2 separate regions of the Homo sapiens genome follow, and region 2 is linked to region 1. The links are contacts of gene promoters, found by promoter capture Hi-C in blood cells and fetal thymus (Javierre and others, 2016). All regions are on one chromosome and are shown on one strand. Each heading gives the region's core, a stretch centred on a gene start or on the middle of the fragment in contact. The rest is flanking DNA. Distances are from core to core; before and after follow the strand shown.

Region 1 (7,064 bases), core at 3,510-6,009:
AGGGGACACTGGCGTTGGAAGCAGTGAGGTTTGGAAGATGCAGAGCTGAGGTTGGAGGTTAAGGTAAAGACAGGGACATGGGGTCAGGAGACAGAAGATATGAGATCAAGCTGGGATCATAAGGTAATAAGACAGAAGGTCAAAGATCACAGTAGCTGGCATTGAAGAGGGTCAGGTCTGGATTCGTTGTCTCTGACGCTGGAGAGACAAGAAAGTTCTTGAGTTATGCCACTCAAAGTCAAATGTCAAAGATCAAAGAGACCGTCAATCATCTGGGGTCATGATTCATATGAAATTAAGTCATAAATATGTAACTTGGAGGTTTCGGGATTGTAGTACAGGTCGGTGAGGGGCAGGGGTATTGACATGGATGGGCCACATCCAGGGAAGAGGGACGTGGCCTCAAAGTGGGGAGATTTAGGGGACCCTGCAGCACGCATGTTCTCTCTCCAGACCCATTCCCGGATCTGCTCCAGTGCCTCAACCTCTCCATCGTCTCCCATGCCACCTGCCATGGTGTGTATCCCGGGAGAATCACGAGCAACATGGTGTGTGCAGGCGGCGTCCCGGGGCAGGATGCCTGCCAGGTGAGCCAGTGCAGGCAGCGTGCGTGGTCACCAGGACAGGAAGTGAAGGGGAGGGGCTGGAAGCAGGAGGGGAACTGATGGAGGATGAATCAGGGAAAGGGGATGCTGCAGAGAGACGGGGTCAAAAAGGAAGGGAGAGGCTGGTTACGGAGGCTCACACCTGTAATCCCAGCACTTTGGGAGGCCGAGGCGGGCGGATCACTTGAGGTCAGGAGTTCAAGACAAGCCTGGCCAACACGGTGAGACTCTGAATCTACTAAAAATACCAGAATTAGCCGGGGGTGGTGGTGCAAGCCTGTGGCCCCAGCTACTTGGAAGGCTGAGGCAGGAGAATCGCTTGATCCCGGGAGGCGGAGGTTGCAGTGAGCTGAGATCACGCCACTGCACTCCAGCCTGGGCGACAGAGCCAGACTCTGTCTCAAAACAAAATAATTAATAATAATAATAATAATAATAATAATAATAATGGAGGAGAGGCCCAGGATAAGGGAGGGAGAGAGACAGGGAGTAAAAGGGAGGACCGGGGAATGGAGGAGGGGGAGGGGCAGGGAGAGAGAGGGAGGAAGGGAACAGAGAAGGAAAGATGGGGCAGGGGTTACAGAGAGAGACAGCAAAACAGACGGAGAGGACTGGGAGCCCAGACAGGGAACCAGCTGTTTCTGGGGCTCTAAGTCTTTCCCATACCATCCTCCAGTTGGTGCTGTCCCAGACTGAGAGAGATTTGAGGATGGCGGTCTCTCCCCTCATTGGTCAGGGCCCCAGCCATTGTCCTTGAGAGAACTCTGTGCTTTTGATGGAGTCCTGCCCACCTTCCCTGGGATTGGTCATTTTTGATGGCACTCTCTCCCCTCATTGGTCAGAACCCCAGGCATTGTCCTTGAGAGAACCTCTATCCTTTATGGAGTCCCACCCTCCTCCCCTGGGATTGGTCATTGATAATAGTGTTCTCTCTCCTCATTGGTCAGGGCCCCAGCCATTGTCCTTGAGAGAATGCTCGACTCTTTATGTTGTCTTGACAGCCTCCCCTGAGATTGGTCATTAATGACTGTGCTCTCTCTCCTCATTGGTCAGGGCCCCAGCCATTGTCCTTGAGAGAACCTCTGTCCTTTATGGAGTTCCACCCTTCTTCCCTGGGATTGGCCCCTAGAGACAGTGGTTCTTCTCTTTTGGTTAGCCATTGCCATTGTCCTCCGGGAAAGTGATTATACTCTTTTGTCTAATGACCAGACTTGGAGCCCTCCCCAAGGCCCAGGACTGGGTTGAAGGGTTGGGGAGGAAAACAGAAATAAGATGTCTCCCTTGTTCAGACAGTACTTCTCTTCCCTTCCAGGGTGATTCTGGGGGCCCCCTGGTGTGTGGGGGAGTCCTTCAAGGTCTGGTGTCCTGGGGGTCTGTGGGGCCCTGTGGACAAGATGGCATCCCTGGAGTCTACACCTATATTTGCAAGTATGTGGACTGGATCCGGATGATCATGAGGAACAACTGACCTGTTTCCTCCACCTCCACCCCCACCCCTTAACTTGGGTACCCCTCTGGCCCTCAGAGCACCAATATCTCCTCCATCACTTCCCCTAGCTCCACTCTTGTTGGCCTGGGAACTTCTTGGAACTTTAACTCCTGCCAGCCCTTCTAAGACCCACGAGCGGGGTGAGAGAAGTGTGCAATAGTCTGGAATAAATATAAATGAAGGAGGGGCCATGTCTGTCCATTTGAAGTCCTCATGCTGGTTGAGACTGGAAGAAGGACTCAGCAGTTTCCCTATCTCATAGGAGTAGAAACAGAGCTCAAATAAGGCCAGGCACAGTGGCTCACACCTGTAATCCCATCACTTTGGGAAGCTGAGGCAGGTGGATCACCTGAGGTCAGGAACTCGGGACCAGCCTGGTCAACATAGTGAAACCCCAACTCTACTAAAAATGCAAAAATTAGCCAGGCATGGTGGCGCATGCCTGTAATCCCAGCTACTCAGGAGGCTGAGACAGGAGAATAGCATGAACCCGTGAGGCAGAGGCTGCAGCGAGCCGAGATTGAACCATTACACTCCAGCCTGGGCGACAGAGCGAGACTCCATCTCAAAAACAAACAAACAAAAAACCCAGTGCTCAAATAGGATGAGGGTCTTCCCTGAGTAGTTACTCAGAAATGGAGTAGAAAAAGTTACTTTTAATAATATAGGCCGGGTGCAGTGGCCCACGCCTGTAATCCCAGCACTTTGGGAGGCCGAGGTGGGAGGATGGCTTGAGCTCAGATTTCGAGATCAGCCTGGCAACACAGTGAAATCTTGTCACTACAAAAACACAAAAAATTAGCTGGGTGTGGTGGTGCGTGCCTGTAGTCCCAGCTACTTGGGAAGCTGAGGTGGGAGGATCACCCGAGCCGGGGAGGTGGAGGCTGCAAAGAGCCGAGATCATGCCACTGCACTCCAGCCTGGGCAATAAAGTGAGACCTTGTCTCAAAAACAAAAACCCAGCAATATAAATAAGACACATGTTTCTTCATCTGGCATAATAGAAATAGTGCCCAGAGCTTATAAGCTTTTCAAGAGTCCACAAAAGACCCGAAAAAGAAAAAGAAAATTGTTAGCTCCAAAATACCAGATGAAAGCTGCAAAGTCAACATTTATGACCATTTAATCCAATGTCCATAAAACGTAGCATTCTTTCCACTAGCCAACTGCAGTTTACTTTCTTGTAATGAAGCATACATTGTATCTTTAATGTGGGACGTGGCTTTGTTCTAATAAGACGAAGGGTGGAGTGCAGGCTTGGAAAGCAGGAGAGCTCAGCCTACGTCTTTAATCCTCCTGCCCACCCCTTGGATTCTGTCTCCACTGGGACTCAAGAGGTGAGGAGAGACCATCTCCCCAAATGCACTGAAGGGAAACTGGAGGAGGGAGGGAGTGAGGGGTGATCATACCAGCGGAGGCACATTTGCTGAGCCCCCCCGCAGTCTGCTCTTTCCAAGTGGACCCTCCTGGAAGCCTGATCCCAACCTCCCCTGCAAGCAGGTCTGTCACCCCCATCTCTCAGATGAAGAAACTGAGCCTTGCAGGGGTGGAGTCCCTTGTCCCCACGTCATAAGGGTAGTCATAGTAGTAGGAAGAGGAAGCACCTAGGTTTGAGGCCAGGGCTGGCTGCTGTCAGAACCTAGGCCCTCCCCTGCCTTGCTCCACACCTGGTCAGGGGAGAGAGGGGAGGAAAGCCAAGGGAAGGGACCTAACTGAAAACAAACAAGCTGGGAGAAGCAGGAATCTGCGCTCGGGTTCCGCAGATGCAGAGGTTGAGGTGGCTGCGGGACTGGAAGTCATCGGGCAGAGGTCTCACAGCAGCCAGTAAGTGAACAGCTGGACTCGGGCTGCCTGGGCGGCAGGGAGAAGCGGGCAGGGGAAGGGTCAGCAGAGGAGCGAGGCCCCAGAGGAGCCCTGGGGTGGAGCACAGCCAAGGGCTCTGTTCCCTTTCCTGGACTCGGCTTCCACAGGCCCTGACCTGCCTCCCCCACCCTCCGGTCCTGCCCCTGTGCCTGGCAGCAGCCCCACCTGTGTGACATCCCAGCACACCCCCCCTCTCCTTGCAAAGGAGAAGGGAGCGGCCTAGGGGAGGCCAGGGGCCCACCTGGGCTGGGGCTGTGGAGAGGGAGTGGCTGGGACGGGAGGAAAAAGAGAGACGGAGATTAGATGGAAGAAGAGGGATTTCAAGACAAATTGCCAGAGATGCAGTCAGAGAGACTGACTGAGAGACACAAAGATAGAAGGAATTAGAGAAAGGGCCACACAGAGCCAGACAGAGAGAGAAGAGTGGAGATGGAGACAGGGACGAGGACAGAGAAAGGCAGACAGACACATAGGGACAGAAAGAGAAAAATCACACAAAGTCAGAATTACTGAATGACAGGGAATGACACATAGAACGAGACACAGATTCAGAGACTCAGGGCAGGGAAAGGAAGGCTGCAGACAGACAGACAGACAGAGGGAGGCTGAGACACAGGGAGAAGAGGGGCTTGGAGAGGTGGCACAGGCAGGCAGCCAGTGCCTCAGAGGCCTCCGGGGAGGGCCCTCACACACACCCCGCCCCGGGGCATTAAGGCAGGGCTTGGAGGCCAGTCATCCTGGGCCCGCCCAGGGCCGCCCCCCTGCCAGCCCGCCTGCCTGGTGCCTGGCACCTGGCGCTCCAACCCAGCCTACCTGCTGTAGCTGCCGCCACTGCCGTCTCCGCCGCCACTGGGCCCCCAGAGCCCCAGCCCCAGAGCCTGTGAGTCCAGGAGGAAAGGGAAGCTGCCCCTCCCCGTCCAGGTGTCAGCCCTCCCCAAGGACACCTGTCCCACTCGGGCACCCATTTCTCCCTCTGCTCTGTCCTTCTCTGCTTGGGTGGGGGTTCCTGGCCTCTCTCTACACCTCTCACCTCCGATGGCTGTCCGCAGCCTCAGTTACCTCTAATCTCCATGGCTTCAGCTGCTGAGCTGGCCCTCTGCTCCCACCCCCGCTGGCCAGGGCAGCGGAGGGCACTGGCCCTCCCCTCGACCAGCCCCGCCCAGCTTTGCTTGGCTGTCCTTCAAAAGGGCAGGGGTTTGGCGGACAGGGCTTCAGCAAGCCGGGTGATGGGGGTCCCAGACATTGTCTGGGGCTGAGCCCCCTACTCCCCTCCAGCAGACCTCAAAGGCTCCATATCGCTCTGCTGCGAAGACAATGAAAAAGGGGTGGCTACGGAACGGTGTCTGGTTCCCCTTGTCCTTCCACCCCAAGCTGCTGGGGCCTGGCCAGCTCTCAAGGCAAGAAGGAAAACATCCTCTGACATGTGCCGGGGAGGTCCCATGGCTGACTTGAACAGGGCCGAACCATGGCTTGACAGCTCAAAGCCCCTCCCAACGACTTCCACATGGTTCTTGGTATCTCGGAAGCTTCTAGCTGTGACCAGGCCCTCTCCAAGGCCACCCTAGACACCTAAGATATATTTTAAGTGTTTGGAGATCTGAGTGCTGTGAGAAACAGGGGATTTCCCCAACCTTGTTTCTCCCAAGTGGGGAGCGGGAGCAGGTGAGGGAGAGAGGAGAGGGCATGAGCCAGCCCCCCCCTCCCGATTTCCCCGTAAAGTGATGCGGCCCCATGTCCCTCCTTGTTCCCAGAGGAACCTGGGGCCCGCTCCTCCCCCCTCCAGGCCATGAGGATTCTGCAGTTAATCCTGCTTGCTCTGGCAACAGGTACGCAGGGGATGGGGGCAGGGCAGGATCCTCCCTCTTGAATCTCTGGGATCCCCTAACCCTCTGTGTCTGGACAGTGACAGGGCTGATTCCAAATTACAGAACAACCCATAAGGCACCTGAACTGGAGCAGTGGTCATGAGGGCCTGGATGCCCTTCTAGATAATCCCTTTAAATGCCAAAGGAGGAGAGGTCAAGGGGGTCGTAAAGGGTCCCGTGGAGGGGCTGAGGAAGCTGGAGTTGGGGGAGCAGTCACTCAAAGCGCCCAGGACAGGGGCTACTGACCAACCAGTATGGAAGTATTTCCTTTTTTTTTTTTCCCAGAGACAAAGTCTTGCTCTATTGTCCAGGCTGGAGTGCCGTGGTGCCAACACGGCTCACTGCAGTCTTGACTTCCCGGGCTTAAGTGATCCTTAAGCCATCTCAGCTTCCCCGGTAGCTGGGACCACAGGCACCTGCCACCAAGCCAGGCTAATTGTTTAATTGTTTGTAGAGATGGGGGAGGAGGTCTCACTATGTTTGCCTAGGCTGATCTAGAACTCCTGGGCTCAAGTAATCCTCCCACCTTAGCCTCTCAAAGTGCTGGGATTACAGGCATGAGCCACTGCATTTGACCTTATGGAAGTATTTTCATCCTTTAATACCCGACCCCAGCATCCAGGGCAACCCAGAGGGACACCAGACCAGGGCCCAGACCACCCACTCTCTTTCTCTCCTCCCCACCCCCATTTCTGGGAGTCCTCCTGGTCTACCACCTCTCCTTCCTGAGCCCCTTCTTTTGCTCTCACCCCCTCCAGGGCTTGTAGGGGGAGAGACCAGGATCATCAAGGGGTTCGAGTGCAAGCCTCACTCCCAGCCCTGGCAGGCAGCCCTGTTCGAGAAGACGCGGCTACTCTGTGGGGCGACGCTCATCGCCCCCAGATGGCTCCTGACAGCAGCCCACTGCCTCAAGCCGTGGGTGCGGGGGCTGGGGCGGTGCCGGGGTGGGGGGCTGGGAATGGGGAGATGGATGGAGAGAAGCTCAGGGATAGGGGTGCTGGTAAGGGGATTAGAGATGGGGATGGGTAGTGTCAGCAAGGTTGATGGGCTCGAGTTGGTATTGAAGGTGGGGGGATGAATGGGGTTGGGATGGGGCTATGGCTGGGAAGGGGGCTTCGGTGGGAGACGTGGAAGAGGTTGGAAGCAGAGCGATGTTTCTTCATCCTCAAAGGTGTCACTCACCTCTCCCACCCATGTCTCCCCCGACCTTTCCTCCTCCAACTACTGTCTCTCCCACCTCAG
Region 2 (7,155 bases), core at 2,114-4,613, 770 kb after region 1:
CAAAGTGCTGGGATTACAGGCATGAGCCACCGTGCCAGGCCGCCTTTTCTCTTTTCAACAGTAATGCACAAATGGCAAAAATCTAAACAGTACAAAAATTCCAGTGGCACACGCTGTCGTTAAATATGCCACCAAGAAAGGAAAAAGACTGGTAATTAAACCCTGACAGGCCGTTGACTAAGCTACATCTCGACTTCAGAGACGCTAGTGGGGAGGAATACATGGCTTAGATTTGATAAAATATGGGATCTCAGGCTGGGCGTGGTGGCTCACGCCTGTAATCCCAGCACTTTGGGAGGCCAAGGCGGGTGGATCGCTTGAGCTCAGGAGTTCGAGAGCAGCCTGGGCAACATGGCAAACATGTTGTTTTCCATTCCCATTGACCCTTCTCTGTAGGGCCCATTCTCTGATTTTCTCAACATGAAAATCAGTGGCCAGTGAGGCTGGCCATGGTCTTGTCACACCCATGCAACAAGCCCAGCCCTGATGGCCTTCCTCTATCCCTTGTACCTCGCGTGCTCCAACCTACCATTGGGCCTTTGTACAAACTCTTCTCTGCCTGGAATATCACGTATCCTTCAGGGCTCAGTCATCACGTCCCCCAGGGAACCTTCCCTAACTTCACTGACCAGATCAAGCCCTGTGTGATACTCACCACCCCTACAGATTTAACTGGACGTTCATTTTGGATGGTTAGATGAATGTCTATGCTCCCCATCAGACTGTGAGCTCCCTGAGAACAGGAGTTGGCTGTGCCTTTCTCTCCAATGCCTCCCCAGTACCTGTTCCCAGCACAGTAGATGCTTAATACATTAAGTCATATGAATGCATGAATTTTCCCAACCGGACCCTGAGCCTAGGAATAGAAGCAATTTGCTCAAAGCCACACAGCTAATTTGAGGGTCCTCGAATCAGATGTGGCTCCAGCCAAGTCCAGAGGCCAAACCTTAACCCACAGCCACAGCCACCCCTTCCTCCCCAGGCTGAGTCACTCACCCTCTTCTCGTGGTTGGGGACAATGCAGCGGACAAAACTGGGGTTGGTGTTGCTGAGTGTGGCCATGAGGCGGCTCAGGGACTCCTTGTAGAGCTGTCCCACTGTCCGGAACATACCCCGACGGGGGCGGCCACCTGGTGGGCCGTCGCCCAGGCTGCTCACCTGTTCCAGCCCCACGATGCCCTCCACTGTCAGATGGAGATGCAGAGAGAGAGAGAAGGAGGTCAGGGTCAGTTTTAGGGACCTGGGCCAAAGGTCAAGGGTCTTATCATTTATCACAACTGGCACTTTACATATGAAGGACCTCACACAGCCTGTAAGGTAGATATCAGCTTCATTGGACAGATGGACATACTGAGGCTCTGAAGAGTGGGAGAATGTGCTTAAGGTCACACAGCTTAGAAACTGAAGATCCGAGATTAGAACTCAGACAGTAGGAGTCCTCTCAAACTCTGGTCTTTGACCCTTCTTCTCTTCAAGGACATGATCTCTGTTTTCCTTATCAATAAATGATGACAATAACAGCAAATGCTTACCTAGCATAGATACTCTGGCAGGCATTGCTCAAAGCAATTTACATCAATGGCTTTATAAGCCTGTAAGAATCATTCCCATTTTACAGATTTGGAAACTGAGGCATAGAGAGAGAAAACAGTGATAACATAACCACTGCAGTTGCATTTTAGGAATCTGAAACATATTAAAAGATGTAATAAATTCTTGCATTATATGCAATATTTGAAATAGGGCAAACTGTCTCTATTTTAACCATTTTTCCAGAAGAGCCTAATTTCATAGAGGTTCTATTTTCTTGGCAGGGTGCGGTGGCTCATGCCTGTAATCTCAGCACTTTGGGAGGCCAAGGCGGGTGGATCACCTAAGGTCAGGAGTTCGAGGCCAGCCTGGCCAACATGGTGAAACCCCATCTCTACTAAAAATACAAAAAATTAAGCCAGGTGTGGTGGCACATGCCTGTAATCCCAGCTACTTGGAAGGCTGAGGCAGGAGAATTACTTGAACCTGGGAGGCAGAGGTTGCCGTGAGCCAAGATTGTGTCACTGCACTCCAGCCTGAGCAACAGAGCTAGACTCTGTCTCAACAAAAAGATTCTATTTTCTCTAGTGCCGCTTGGCGGTGCTGCTTTGGGTAGTGAAAAATATCCATTCCTTCTATTGGCACTGTCTCGAATTCTGTTGTTTGTTTGTTTTCTGAGACACAGTCTCACTGTCACCCAGGCTGGAGTACAGTGGAGTGATCACAGCTCACTGCAGCCTCAACCTCCTAGGCTCAAGTGATCTTCCTACCTCAGCCTCCCAAGTAGTTTGGACTACAGGCGCACACCACCATGCCCACCAATTTTTAAATTTATTTTGTAGAGACGGGGTCTTCCTGTGTTGCTCAGGCTAATCTCAAACTCTTGTCCTCAAGTGATCCTCTCACCTCGGCCTCCCAAAGCGCTGGGATTATAGGGGTGAGCCAATGCACCTGGTCCCAAATTCTATGTGTTGAATCATGCCAGGTTCCTCAGGAACCCACAGCTAGGGCAGAATCTGATGTCCTGCAAAACTCATCCCATTCAAGCGCCATCAACCGTCAACTAGATAATCTGTGCTTAGGGCAGGGCCAGGTCATGGCAGGGGCTCAAATATGTTATTTTCTTCCCCAGGTTCAACCGTCTCCCCTACCCCGTACTCCCTGTCATTTTCAAAATGATAATTATCATTTATTAAGTCCTCATAGCACAGATAAGAACTAAAGTTCTGGAATCTGATGTCCTGGGTTCAAATCCCAGCTCTGCCACTTACTGGCTGTGTGACCTCAGCAAGTTACTTAACTTCTCTGTGCTTTAGTTTCCTCATTTGTGTAATGGGGTGTTGATAATTCTAAAGGGGTTTCACATGGTGAACGGCACATAGTAAGTGCTCAAGAAACGCGAGCTGGTACTATCACGCTTGTTTGTACTTTTACATGCAGTTTAGTTAGAAGAAGGGGTTCTGCTGCTACAGAGTCTGGAAACTTCCAAGGGAGCCAACAAGGAGGGAAAGGAAGAGTGAGAGACCTCCACAGTAAGAGGAGAGGGGACAGATGTTCAAAACCAGGTCCCCAGCCCAACAGGTCCACCCTCCTCCTCCAGCAAGCCTCACCCATCGATGCACAGAGACACCCACCCCCTGGCGGAGAAATAGCAGAGCTGCACCTCTCTGCAGATCCTGGGGGCGACGGTGGGAAGGAGCCAAGGAAAGAGAACTGCTGGAAGCCCCCATGTTCTGGGGAGTGAGGACAGATGTGTGGGTGGGTGGAGGGGAGATGGCAGAGAGATGGCGGAGAGAGATGCATGAAAAGAGGGGAAGGAGAGGAGGTGGCAGGAAGAAAAAGAGGAGAGGGTTATTAGTCAACAGTACAGAGCAAAGCAAGATGGAAAACCAGAATGTTGGCCATAAACTTCTGAACTCCTGTTCATCTTTGTATCCACACACTGTTGGCCAAAAGGACGAATGTCCTCTGTAAGAATTCAGTGCAAAGAATAAAAAATCTCTCCCTCTAGAGGTTGTGTCTGTTTTAGTAGGTTGCCCTTTTTGCTCTGGCTGCCAGGAAGCTCAAGAATGAACTTGATGCTCCCAGGCCACTTGTTGTTTTTGCCTCTCAGAGGAGAGCTAATCTCATTTCCGTTTTTCCCTGGGCTGTCAGGATGCTGGGCATCCAATTCTGGGCTCAAAGCAGCTCTAGCAGAGATTGGGCAAAAATGGCCCCGATTCCCCACTTTCCCCTGTATTGACACCCTTTGCCTGTGTCTTGCAGCTCCTTGAATCTGGGAAGACCTTGTGACTAGCTTTGTTTAGGAGGATTATGGAGGAAGTGACATTATGGCAGCTCCCCAGCTACTCGGGAGGCTGAGCCAGGAGGTTTTGCAGCTTCCACTTTTTCTTTTGGAACCCTCTGAGAGTCAGGCACACACAGAGTGTGACAAATGAGGGCTCACTGTGGAGAATCATGTGTTTATGAAGACAGCACAAATATTTTAAAAGGGCAGCAGATTTTCAGCCGGGAGATGATTCTCGTAGCATAATCTGGTTCTGTTCCTGAACATCAAACTCTGCTTTCCAATCTCCTTGTGTAAATACTATATGAGACATAAAAATAAAATCTATCTTTCTAGCATGAGCTCACAAGATCAAGACCCTCCATGCTGTTTTGCTCTGTGAGTGTGTTTTGGGAACCACTCACCTTGCTCATTTTGTTTTCTTTTTTTTTCCTTTTTTTTTTTTTTTGAGACAGAGTTTCACTCTTGTTGCCCAGGCTGGAGTGCAATGGCACGATCTCGGCTCACCACAACCTCCACCTCCCGGGTTCAAGCGATTCCCCTGCCTCAGCCCCCCGAGTAGCTGGGATTACAGGCATGTGCCACCACGCCCAGCTAATTTTGTATTTTTAGTAGAGATGAGGTTTCTCCATGTTGGTCAGGCTGGTCTCAAACTCCCGACCTCAGGTGACCCGTCCACCTTGGCCTCCCAAAGTGCTGGGATTACAGGCGTGAGCCACCGCGCCTGGCCGCTCATTTTGTTTTCTTGCCAAATTGCATGGACTGGTATTTCTACAGCTACCTTTTCATGTCAATAAAAGATTAAGGCAAACTGACAAATGCCAGAAACTTGGAACCTGGAAAAAACAGGATGCCAGTTCTGCCAGCTTTCTAAAACCATTTCTCAAACCTCCTCTAAGGATGGGGGGGCAGGGGCAGTGGCAGAAAAGGCTTGGAAAAGGTCAGAGTCCTACCACAGGGCATTTGGCATCTCTGCCTATGACCCCTAGAAGTGTCAATCCAAAAAGACAGTCACACTCATGGGGGCCTTTTGGGGGCAGGAAAGCCCTCCAAAACTGTATCTCAGTCTGTTTTTTCTTTCTTCTTCCCTGGGGGCGTGAAGGGAACTTTGTAAGAAAACAAAGAAAGCAAAGCCTAAAAGTTGACTGACCTGCAAAAGATCATCATTCTGTGTTCTCTTATTGTTATAAATTATTTCTCAGTAGAATTTTTTTTTTTTTTTTGGGACAGAGTCTCACACTGTCACCCAGGCTGGATTGCAGTGACACAATCTTGGCTCACTGAAACCTCTACCTCCCAGATTCAAGCGATTCTCCTGCCTCAGCCTCCCTAGTAGCTGAGACTACAGGCATGCACCAGGACATCTGGCTAATTGTTGTACTTTTAGTAGAGACAGGGTTTCACCATGTTGGCCAGGCTGGTCTTGAACTCCTGACCTCAAGTGATCCGCCCACCTTGGCCTCCCAAAAGTGCTGGGATTACAGGTGTGAGCCACCATGCCCAGCCAAATCTCCTAATTGTTTAGGGAACACAGGCCATCTAAAAATAATAAGTTTACTTCTTCCTGTTCGATATTCATACTTTTTCTGGTCTGATTGCATAGGCTAGTATTGCTAAAAAAACGATGTTTAACAGTAGTGTTAGTGGGTATCTTTGCCACGTTTCTGATTAAGGCGGAGTGCTTTATCCTTGAGAAGGATGCTGGCTTATCAATCAAATCAATAGTCAATCAATTAATCTATGGATCCATCCATCACTGATTTGAAATACTATTTGTGACACTGGCTATTCTGGGTCTGAGCAGAAAACTCAGGTTCAGACCTCCGCCTCTGAAACAAAGGTGCTCACGCTGTGGATTTGGAGAATGGCCGCACAGACCCCTAGAGCCGGGGTGGGGGAAGTGGGTCCTCACCGTCTTTCCAGATCTCTGCCGTCAGCCGGTCTGTGCTCTGGTGGAGCAAGGCTGCGACGTTGTCATTCAGAGGGTCCATGTTTTTCATCAGCCACTCGTTGGCCTTGTAGTCGACCTGAATGAAGTCAGGTAGAGGAGGGCGATGACTTGCAGGCTCAGACATTCTCTGGATTTCCTAAGGAGCCTTCCAGAAGCTCTGAGACTCCCAGGTCTGGAGCTCACCATGGACAAGCGAGCACTGGTGCCACCTTGTGTCCATATTCTGAACTGCACCCCACCAGCATGGTCCCCTCTCTCTCCTTCCCCTCTATGCCCCCTGCCACCTCTGTGACCTCCACCACCACCACTTTCTTCCTATTCATTCCGCTCCAGCCACCCTGGCCTCCGCACTGTTCCTCAAACATGCGAGCTTACTCCCACCTCGGGGTTTTACCCCTGCGGTTCCTGCCACCTGGGGTTCTGTCTCTGTGGGTTTCACACCACTGGCTCCTTCTGGGTACTCAGGGCTTTGCTGTGGGGCTCCATAGAGTCACGATCTTGGCCGCTACAATTCTCTGCATATGTGCCCCCCACCAGACAGCGGTCCCCCGAGGGCAGGGCCCAGGTCTGACTCACGGCCTAGCAGAGGGCTGGGTACAGGGGGAGTTCTGGAGTATGTCTGGGGAAGAAACTGAGGGCTAGACACAGAACACATGGAATCTCCTGCCTCCCAGCCATTGTCTATGCTGTTCCCTCTGCCTGGAGAGCCCTTCCCACCCTTCACCCATCCTCTGGGGCTGCCTGGTCCACATCATCAAAACCAGGGGTCAGCAAACTATGGCTCACAGGCAAAATCCAGCCTGCCACCTCTTTTTGCAAATACTTTCACTGGAATAGGGCTGGGCGCGGTGGCTCACACCTGTAATCCCAGCACTTTGGGAGGCCTATGCGGGTGGATCAACTGAGGTCAGGAGTTCGAGAGCAGCCTGGCCAACATGGTGAAACCCTGTCTCTACTAAAAATACAAAAATTAGCCAGGCATGGTGGCAGGTGCCTGTAATCCCAGCTACTGGGGAGGCTGAGGCAGAAGAATTGCTTGAACCTAGGAGGCGGAGATTGCAGTGAGCCGAGATCGTGCCACTGCACTCCAGCCTGGGTAACAGAGGGAGACTCTGTCTCAAATAAAAAAAAATACATATATATATGTGTGTGTGTGTGTGTGTGTGTGTGTGTGTGTGTGTGTGTGTGTGTGTAGTGTGTATATATATATGTGTGTATATATATATGTGTGTATATATATATGTGTATATATATATAGGAATAGAACCTTCATTTATGTCTTCATAGTCAAACTCATGGGGGCCCTTCTGGGGGCAAGAGAGCCCTCGAAACTGTTTCTCAGTCTGTTTTTCCTTTCTTTTTCCCTGGGGGCTTGAAGATACTTATG

What was found. The method cuts DNA at HindIII sites, captures the fragments that hold promoters and counts their contacts. A CHiCAGO score of 5 or more calls a contact.
Region 2: a fragment that was not itself captured here is called in contact with the fragment with the promoter of KLK11 in region 1 in 1 of 17 cell types (activated CD4 T cells); the score reaches 5.8 in activated CD4 T cells.

Annotation. Positions count from the first base shown.
Region 1 is chr19:51,024,311-51,031,374 of GRCh38, reverse strand. KLK11 (kallikrein related peptidase 11) reads left to right here and starts at 4,759. Exons shown (of 6, transcript NM_001136032.3): 1 at 4,759-4,837; 2 at 5,709-5,783; 3 at 6,581-6,737. The coding sequence starts at 5,744. KLK12 (kallikrein related peptidase 12) reads left to right here. Exons shown (of 6, transcript NM_001370125.1): 5 at 454-587; 6 at 1,918-2,281. The coding sequence ends at 2,073. RefSeq lists a silencer at 1,184-1,415 and enhancers at 3,448-4,004, 4,564-5,121, 5,122-5,680. The HindIII fragment of the contact is 2,362 bases long and covers 3,124-5,485 here.
Region 2 is chr19:50,251,328-50,258,482 of GRCh38, reverse strand. It overlaps MYH14 (myosin heavy chain 14), which reads right to left. Exons shown (of 43, transcript NM_001145809.2): 16 at 5,730-5,844; 17 at 3,165-3,263; 18 at 997-1,184. Among named protein-coding and RNA genes, the nearest start is that of MYH14, 51 kb to the right of the region's middle. The HindIII fragment of the contact is 7,915 bases long and covers 1-7,155 here.